Linked DNA regions of Homo sapiens: region 2 is linked to region 1. The links are contacts of gene promoters, found by promoter capture Hi-C in human tissues and cell types (Jung and others, 2019). All regions are on one chromosome and are shown on one strand. The core of a region is centred on a gene start or on the middle of the fragment in contact, and the rest is flanking DNA. Distances in the headings are between cores, read along the strand shown. Region 1 holds the start of DLG5 (discs large MAGUK scaffold protein 5). Region 2 has its middle 140 kb from the start of KCNMA1.

Region 1 (4,576 bases), core at 1,115-3,614:
CAGACACGGAAAGGGTGAGACCTAATTAATGGCAATTGATCCATCAATCAATTTTCAGAGATTAAGGCGAGCGTTGATTCACATGCTTCCCAACGCAGACTTCCAGTCTGTACTAAGTTCTGTGCTTTACGAAAGACTTTCAGAAACAGATCTTAACTTCTTCATTCAGAGATAGATTAGATAGATACATAGATACAATTAAAAAGAAAAAAATTACTTTGTTGAGATCCCCTCTGTCCTTATCCTCATGGCCACATCTGACAGTCCCTTCCTAGCATCTCCCAAAGCACTATCCCAGGAAAGGACTAGGTTTGCCCAGTAACTCTGACATGACCACAACTGGGGGGAAAGAATGCAGGTTTGAGGGACAGAGATGCAAGTCAGAAGCTCAAAGTGGAGACGGGAGGGCCACCAATGAAATGACCTGCTGTGTGGCCAGCAATTTAGTCTCTCTGTCAGTTTCCTGCAGCTACAAAAATTGAGGTTAAGATGGCCAACGTAAGAGAGCTGTTACCAGGAATGCCTTATAAAATCATTCCCTTAATAAGTGGGGCTTTTAACAGCCAAATAAATGGGTCCCATCAGCCTTTGACCTTCAGGTTGCTAAGGGCAGTTTCTCAGCCCTCTCGGTTCACTTGTTTTTCTTTTATACATATATCCTTATTTATTTTTACTGTACCTATCGATTCACTGTTAAAACAGGGACAAGACCTAGAAAGATGGCACTTTGTTTCCTGGCTCTGAACAAGTTAAATCAAACAATAGGTTATAATTCAAAATTCCTGGTGCCCAATACTTTCTGAGCATTTTAACCACTCCAAGCCAGAGTTTTCTCTCTGGCAAAGAATAACAGAAAGCTCACATAGTGGCAACGACAACTGAACGTGATAAAGCAGAGCGCCTGCCACAACAGTAGATGCCCAATAAATGCTAGTTCTCCTCCTCCCTCAGTGCCATGTCTTCTTCCTCCAGCTGCCTTGTCTAAAAAGGCTGGCTTCCACACTCCACGGCCAGGCCAGGACAAGCCTACCACTTGTCAGAAACTCCCGCCAGTATCCGTTCCTGCACCCAGACACACACTTACAAATCAGTCATCCCCAAGACCAAAGACACAGGGGTTCCAAAAGGCACCCTCAAGGGAACCAGTCACCAGCCTTCCTCGTTAAGCAGCTCTGTGCTCTCAGGGAGAGAACTTAGCCCCAGCAGCCACTACTAGGATTTTCCCATGGTGCAATGCAACTTCCCCAACTTTTCCGGGCCCAGTTTCCAAAGAAACCCAGGCAGGCGTTGTGCACAATCAGCCACCAGTCTGGGAGAGACTGGGCTCTGAGCAGAGAAAAAGGAGCTGGGACAGCCAGAAAATGAAAAAGCAGTTGTGGCCCCGGCACAGGATGGCAGCGACCAAAACTTAAGAGTAGGGGTCCTGGCCCAAGTCCCATTCTTCTGGACGGTACCCTTGGTTAAAGGCTAGCACAGGGTGCCAAAGCTAGCGGACGGTGAGGAGCCTCAGAAAAGGGACTGATGGACATCCTCCGAGGTACCCCCTACCCGCTACTGGACCTGGTGGCCCCCGGGGACCCTGTCGTCGAGGCACCTGAGAGTGAAGGCCTTCAGCGGGGGGCATTGTTCACAGCGAACGGCGGGACTGGGGGAGGCGGCGGGACTTCGGGATCCGCGCACCGCCGCCTCCCCAACTGGGCCAGAGGAGCGAGTCCACCGAGGCCATCGCCAGGTGGAGCGGCGGCCCCGGCGAGGTACCCTCGGCCAGCAGGAGGGAGAAGCGGAGGGCGCGTCCCAGAGGCGGGGGCCAAGGGTCTGCCACTCACCCGCGCCTTCGGCGGGCTGCGGCGGCCCGACGACGCCGTTCAGGTAGAGAATGGGCAGCAGGTGAGGCTGCGTCTTCTCCAGCGCCGCCCGCAGGTCCTGGAAGTGGTCCCGCTCCTTGGCCAAGAGCAGCTTGAGCAGCAGCTCCGCCTTGGCGCCTCCCGCCTCCTCGTCCAGCTGCCGCCGCTCGCCGGGACTGAGCGCTCCCGCGGCCTCGAGCAGCCCGAGCACGGCTTCCACCTCCGTCATGGCCTGGGCCAGGCTCTGCTGACACTGGGCGAGCAGCTCCCGGCGCTGGGGCTCCATGGTGGCGGGCCGCGCCGCCCCGCCCCGCCGGACGCCTCCCGGGCCCCCCGAGGCCGGCGGGCGGGCAGGCGAGCACCTCGGCAGCAGCCCTAGGGCGCCGGGAGCCGTGAGGCGGCGGGAGCCATGGGCCGGGGCCTGGGCGGGCTGGGGGCCCGGGGCGGCGGGCGGCGCTCAGCAGCGGCCGCCTCCCGGGCTCCGGAGCGCAGCCATGTTGGCTGCCGCGGCGGCGGGACTGGAAGAGGAGGAGGAGGAGACGGAGGAGGAGAAGGAGGAGGCGGAGGTGGGGACGGCGGCCGGGGCGCGCCCCGAGGCCGGGCTCCAGCCGGGCATGCTCCCCCTCCCCCTCAGCCTCCGCGCGCGCCGCCCGCCCCGCGAGAAAACTCGCCCCGAAAGCCGGGCCGCGCGCCGCCCCCAGAGCAAGACTACAACTCCCGGGAGAAAGTCGCCTGGGCCGTGTTTCCCAGGCTCCCGACAGCTCCGGCCCGGCTCGGAGGCCGCCTCGGCCCCCGTGCACCCCGGCCCGGCTCACCGGGGCCCCGCGGCCGCCACCCGCTCCCCCGTGGCCACAGCCCCGCCGCCGCCGGCCCGTCCCTCCTCTCTCCCCTCCCCAGGCCGTCCCTCCGGGAGGCGGCAGCAGGGGAGGAGGGGACGGGCGGAGGGGAGGGGTCCCCGGCCCGCCCGCTAGGCGGGGACGCGGCGCCGGCTGGTTCCCGGTCCCCCGAGGCCCAGGCGCAGCCGGGGGTGGGGGACACGGAGTCAGGCCTGGCACGCGGCCAGCCCACAAGCTGCTGGAGACCCCCTCATACAAATCTTGCCCCCAGTCCAGAGGGTCCTAATCTGAGAACTCCAAAATACAGCCTGGAGACAAATGGTGGGGAGGGTTTCCCCTAAATTTGGACATCTCCAGATTAAGACCTCCGCCGAATCCGTGAGGCTTTCCCTCTCCAAGGAGCTCCTAAGAGAATTTCCCAGTAAAATCGCCTCAACTGCGGTAAATAGGCTGTTCCCCGCGCCAGCATTTGAGAAGAGCTGGTCCCCAGAGTGTAAAGGAGTTAGGATGTTGGCAGGAGGAAGGATGTGTCGCCGGATGAGGAAAAGAAAGGTGGGTGTCTGCGGTGCAGTCCTTGGTCTTTCTGGCAAGTGAGGCGCTCTCCCCCTAAATGTCTCAGAGGGAGACAAATCAGCGGACTACCTTGCTTCCTTTGATGACTTGGAAAGGATCTGCAGTCCCCCTTAAAGCCCAAGAATGTCTTCTCTTCCACGACAGCCGTTTGTGGACACATACTGCTTACCTCCCTGACTGCAGGACAAGGTCCTTCAAAGCTGGAACTCTGACTGCGCTCAGTGATCCCGCAGTGCTCCTCTGTAGAGTGGGAACCCAGGTCCATTTCAAATATCTACGTTGGAATGAGTGGATCTCGCTGGGGGTGAGAGGCACTTTGTCTACCCACACTGCCAGTCCCAGCCACATGCCTCCTCCCTTCCCTCAAAAAGCAGTGTCTTCTTAGTCTGCTTCTTCAAGGGGAGAAGTCGTTTTTATTTATGGAAACGAACTCACTATATGGTAGAAAGAACAAGAGTATCAGAATTTGCACTTTGGACTTGGACTCCCCTCTAAGCAGCTGCACAAGGTGGAACAAACCAATAATCCTTGCTGATCTGTTTTGTCCTTAGGAAAAATGGTGGAGGGAGAATATTAGATCAGGGGTTCTTAGCCTTGGCTTCATGAATAAGCTCAAGGATGTCAATGAAGCTTTTGACATGATCTCAACTTTTTTGTGAACATTTATATATTTTTCTGGAATGGGGTCCATAGAGTTACAAGTTCTTTAAGACCTCCAGATGGACCCCAATATGGCAGAAATGAACTATTTAAAGATACCTGCCTGCTCCCGTAGTCTGACCCTCTATGGCTAAGCAAGGTTTTAGAGGAGTGGAAGGCTGGCCATTGCACAGTATCAGGGTTCCAGACAGGCTCCCTGGCTCTTCCCTCCCAGTCCTGCTCCTGAGATATAGTTCTTTCTGGCCGCCACTTCCCTTAGGGCAACCCCAGAGCTTAAATCATCTGCAAGGCAGTCACCTTTCAGGCACCTTTCATCCGGCACCTGTGTTCTTAGCTGGATTAACTAGAAAGCTAGTTGGAGGAAGGAAGGTGAAAGTGGAGGAAGGGGAAAAGAGGAAAAGTTGGAGACGAATCTGGCTTATGGTTAGAAGCATATTTTTTGGCCAGGCAAAGTGGCTCACGCCTGTAATCCCAGCACTTTGGGAGGCTGAGGTAGGCGGATTGCCTGAGCTCAGGAGTTGGAGACCAGCCTGGCCAACGTGGTAAAACCCCGTCTCTAACAAAAATACAAAAATTTAGCCAGGCATGATGGTGCAAGCCTGTAATCCCAGCTGTTCAGGAGGCTGAGGCATGAGAATTGCTTGAACCCAGGAGGTGGAGGTT
Region 2 (4,576 bases), core at 814-3,313, 150 kb before region 1:
GTGATGTCAGCCAGAGAGAAGGGAGACCAGCCTCAAATACGTCCCTTCCCACCAACTAAAGTTAAGGGAAAAGAAGAGGGGCAGGGACGAGGAGTTGGTCAATAGGCAGCAGGCGGTAGTATAAGGGGTTCCAGCATCTCATTGTAACCACATGTGGGAAAACAGGAATGAGGCAGGGATAAGAAGTTGGTCAACAAGGAGCAGGTGCACCTCACTGTCCAGTGGCAGTGATCTGGAAAGTCTCAGTTCCCGGTATCATTCAGGAGGCCCGATGGTTGGTTTCCCAAGAAAGGAACTCAGATAAGACAAATGTAAGTTTTCCAAGCTTCAAGGTTTTTGTTTTTTTTAAAATATGGAATCCTTCACTAATTTGAGTGTCATCCTTACAGGGGCCATGCTAATCTTCTCTGTATCGTTCCAATTTTAGAATATGTGCTGCTGAAGTGAGCACTTTGTTTTTTCAAGACAACAGTTTCATTCTTTCACCCAGGCTGGAGTGAAGTGGCACCATCTTGGCTCACTGCAACCTCCACCTCCCAGATTCAAGTGATTCTCCTGCCTCAGCCTCCCAAGTAGCTGGGATTACAGGTGTATGCCACCACGCCTGGCTAATTTTTGTATTTTCAGTAGAGGCGGGGTTTTGCCATGTGGGCCAGGCTGGTCTCGAACTCCTGACCTCAGGTGATCCACCCACCTTGGCCTCCTAAAGTGCTAGAATTACAGGCTTGAGCCACCGCGCCCGGCCCAAGCTTCAGTTTTATGAGAAAACTGGGCCTGTTTCAATGTTTATTTTATTTGGTTATTCAAGTCTCAACATTCTTTCAATCTAAAACAGTCCTCCCACCAGCCCTCCTTCCCCAGCCCTTTTTAAATCCATAGCATTGAAGAGACCAGGTCATTGTCTTATAGAATATCCTTCATTTTAGATTTGCCTGATTGTGTCTTCATTCCCTAAACTTCCTATAAACCAGCAGTTGGATTTAAAGCCTTGATAAGACCCAGGTGGAGGATTTTTGGCAAGAACACATTCCAGTTGACACTGTGTACTTACTTACTTCATGTTGTAACTCATATCTGGTGGTTTCATTATGGGATCTACTAGAATATACAGACCATGGGCAGATCATATACAAAAACAGAACTCTGACCCACAGTCTGCAGTAACCAGTCCAGGAAGCCAAACAACCCCTGTAGCCTTTGGTCCCAAATGGCCCGGACTTGATCAGTACCTGCCAGCTTCCCTAATTCTTGCCTCTGTTTTGAAAATCCTTTAGTAGGACCAACCAGAGAAGGCCAAATATGCTTCCCTAACCAATCACATAGGATACCCTGCTTCTAGTTAGCTCACCCACAGCCTCCAGATGCCAACAGCCTTTGATCAAGGCTCACCTGAAGCCTCCCCTTTTCCCAGCATAAAGCTTTCTCACTCCGCTGACTGCCTTTGAGTGTCTGCAATGGCAAGTGACTGTGGCTGACTCTCTGTGTATATACCACACTGAGAATAAGTAGCTGCTGCTCATTTTCATTTGGGTGGTCTATAATTATTACTGAAGTGAAGTGTGATCACAGTTAAGGTGGTAATAGTCAGACCCTTTACACTGTCGATGGACTCAGACTTTTTACTTCATGCCTTGCTTATACTGCTTGGATGTTTTCCATGTGCCTATATTAATATTTACAATAAAAGCATGATTTAGATTTTCATTTAGAATTTATCTTAAATGCATCAAATATGCAATTTTAAGTCAAGTTTTGCATGTTTGGCTCAAAATATCAAAATAATGTTGTGTGGTTTTAAAATAACAAGGTTTATTGCTCTTTATATTAGACATGTAGTTAATTACGTTGATCTCCATAAAAATAAGTTTAATTTTAATTTGAATAAAAGAATGCCACAATGAAATACTGACCATTAAAAAAAAAAAAAAGAATAAAGGACCTTAACCCTGGGCAAACATATAAAAGCATAGGAAAGTCACCCAGTATAATGTCTGGCACATTGCAGGTGTTTTGCAATTAGAGCCCATTCCCACGGTGGTGCACACTGCACAAGACCACAGAGGTCCAGCCCTTTTATCTTTCTGGTCCCATCCAGTCATCACCCATAGTGAATCCCGAAGGCAGCATCTCCACCCACCGTACTGGAGGACCACCGACAACTCCTAGTCCTCAGGGGAAACTCCCTTCCATATTCTTCTTGGTGGCGGCCAATATACATTTCTTTCTTCACTTCCCAGGACGTTTGACATACTTGGTGTTCCTCCCTCCAAGCTCCTCCCTTCCCTTCAGGTCTCAAGGTCTCATCCAACACTTCAAGCTCAAAATATCACACAAGCATCAAGGGGGTGAGCCCAGACAGGCACTCTTCCTTGTCCAGTTTCGGGAGAAGATCTCTGTTCCCTGTGACCCCAGGATACACAATGGCTGTTCTACACTCAGGAATCACTACATGTGATTCCCAGGACAGGGGCTGCAACTCTTCTGCTAAGAGCTCCCATAGCCCCAGGGCTCCCCCACCCCCACCCCATATACACACACCCCTCTCCCAGTCTTCTGTGTCTTTCTCGAGGACTGGTTAGCATTTTGGTAGCACCTTTGCCAGGGAAGCAGGCTCCCCAGGATGCACTTTGAACCCTCCCCCTACTGACATGGACTTGCGTTCTCCTGCCTCTAGGCTCCTTGCCTGGCAGTTCTGCACTTTCGGACTCCCCTCCTCTAACGAGTCCATTTGCCACCACAGCAGTGACTGCAGTAGGGTCACGGCACCTGTTTTCTGTGTTATGTGGAAAAAAATTAAGATACTGAACATTTATGTATGCTACCTTCTGGGTGTGAAGGAGGGAACATGAATTCACATTTGATTTAGCTGGTATCTGCAGAAAGCAGCAGTAGGGATTTAGAAATGCATAAAAATAGTGTTACTTTTTGGGATGAAGAGTGGCATGAGACTGATATCTATATATATATCTATATAGATATAGATATATATTTGGAGGCATTGAAACCTGCTTGATTTATTCTGATTATTTAATACACACTGACGCAACTGTGATCCCAAAGAGTGCAAAGTTAAAGCCTTCAACTGCAGCTGAGGAAGAGGGCAGGAATGGTACACCTCGGGACGGTGGTGAGTCAGGAATGACAGGCAGGTAGCCATGACCAGGGCAGCTTCCTCCCCAGGGCCAGGAACAGGGGAGTAGCCTGAGGAGCAGGACCCAAGGGTAGCCCAGGGCCGGGGAAGGGGGCAGAGACCTCCCCTTGGCCTAGGTCAGGAGCTCAGAAGTGCCACATGGCTGAGGGGACAGGACCCTGGAAGGGCCAGAGGCAGGGCCAGGACAGCACCATTTCCTGGGGGTCTGGGGGCAGGAAGCTGCCCTAGAGAAGAAGCCAGGAGGGGTTGCCTGCCCCTGGGGTGGGGGCCAGGCTGAAGGAGGCTGCAGCAGGCTGCAGCAAGAAAGACCTGAGGCAGGTGCAGGGCCTGAGAGCCCAGCTAGCTGAGCAGGGGGGGCTCCCAGGGCAGCCTGGCCCAGGAAGCAGTCCTGACTCTGCAGGGGATGCCAAGCAAGGGGCCGCAGACCCCTCAGGACCTCCCCTCTTCTCTCCCTGGAAAGGAGCTGGGGAACCCATAGTGCAAATCTGTGTACCACTCAGTGATGGAGGGAGACTGTGCCCCAAGGTGGACACTGGGGTGCACCCCCTCCACCACCTCAGCCTCCACCGCTGTCCTCATCACAGCTGCTTCTCATACGAGTGCAGGCCATGGACACCACCCTTGATCTGGGCCGACATGGTCTGCTTCTCAAACTTGAGCTCCCCTGAGTACATCATGGACCAAAGGACAGACAGGCTGCGGGCCCCGATATCCTGGCAGCTGTGCTGGATGCCCGCTATGAGGTAGGGCACGAACTTCTGAATGGACCCTTTGTCCTGGATGGAGCCCGAGACACCCTGTGCGATCTTCACCTTATCCCCCTTGCTGAAGTATCGTTTCTGGCTGCTGCTGCTCTTCTCCATGGCATCCAGTGAGCCCATGCCCTGGTACTTCTTGAGCTGCACCCTTTCTAAGAAGAAGTACTCACCAGGTGCCTCCGTGGTGGTGGCCAGCAGGAGCCCATCATCACTGTGGAGGCTCCAAGGGCCAGGGCCTTGACCACGTGCCCCACAGTCTGGATGCCACCATCGACTATGATGGGCACACCAAAGCACTGGGCATACTTGGCCACCTTGTACACAGCAGTGCCCTGGGGCCAACCGCAGGCCATCACTTTCTGGGTAATGCAGATGGAGCCGTAGCCCATGCCCACATGCAGCCCGTCCACACGAGCGTCCATCAGGTTCTTGGCCTGGGCTGCTGTCACCACGTTCCCCCCAATCACCTGGAGGTGGGGGTACTTCTGTTTGATGTAATGCACCATGGTGATCTGATACACCGAGCTCCCTTGGGATGAGTCCAAGACTACAACATTGACACCCGCCTGGGTGAGCAGGTCCAGGTGGCATTCGTCATCCTCACGGGTGCCCACAGCTGCCCTGCACAGCAGCTGTTTGTGGGAATCCTTGGAGGCCAGAGGGTAGT

The links. The method cuts DNA at HindIII sites, captures the fragments that hold promoters and counts their contacts. A contact is called where the count stands out against the background at its distance.
Region 2: a fragment that was not itself captured here is called in contact with the fragment with the promoter of DLG5 in region 1 in 1 of the 25 tissues and cell types used here (H1 embryonic stem cells).

Annotation. Positions count from the first base shown.
Region 1 is chr10:77,924,391-77,928,966 of GRCh38, forward strand. It overlaps DLG5 (discs large MAGUK scaffold protein 5), which reads right to left and starts at 2,365. Exons shown (of 32, transcript NM_004747.4): 1 at 1,827-2,365. The coding sequence starts at 2,130. It overlaps DLG5-AS1 (DLG5 antisense RNA 1), which reads left to right and starts at 2,422. Exons shown (of 1, transcript NR_024585.1): 1 at 2,422-4,576. RefSeq lists a silencer at 4,058-4,234. The HindIII fragment of the contact is 24,944 bases long and covers 1-4,576 here.
Region 2 is chr10:77,776,605-77,781,180 of GRCh38, forward strand. It overlaps the pseudogene RNU6-1266P and the pseudogene IMPDH1P5. Among named protein-coding and RNA genes, the nearest start is that of KCNMA1, 140 kb to the left of the region's middle. The HindIII fragment of the contact is 3,053 bases long and covers 538-3,590 here.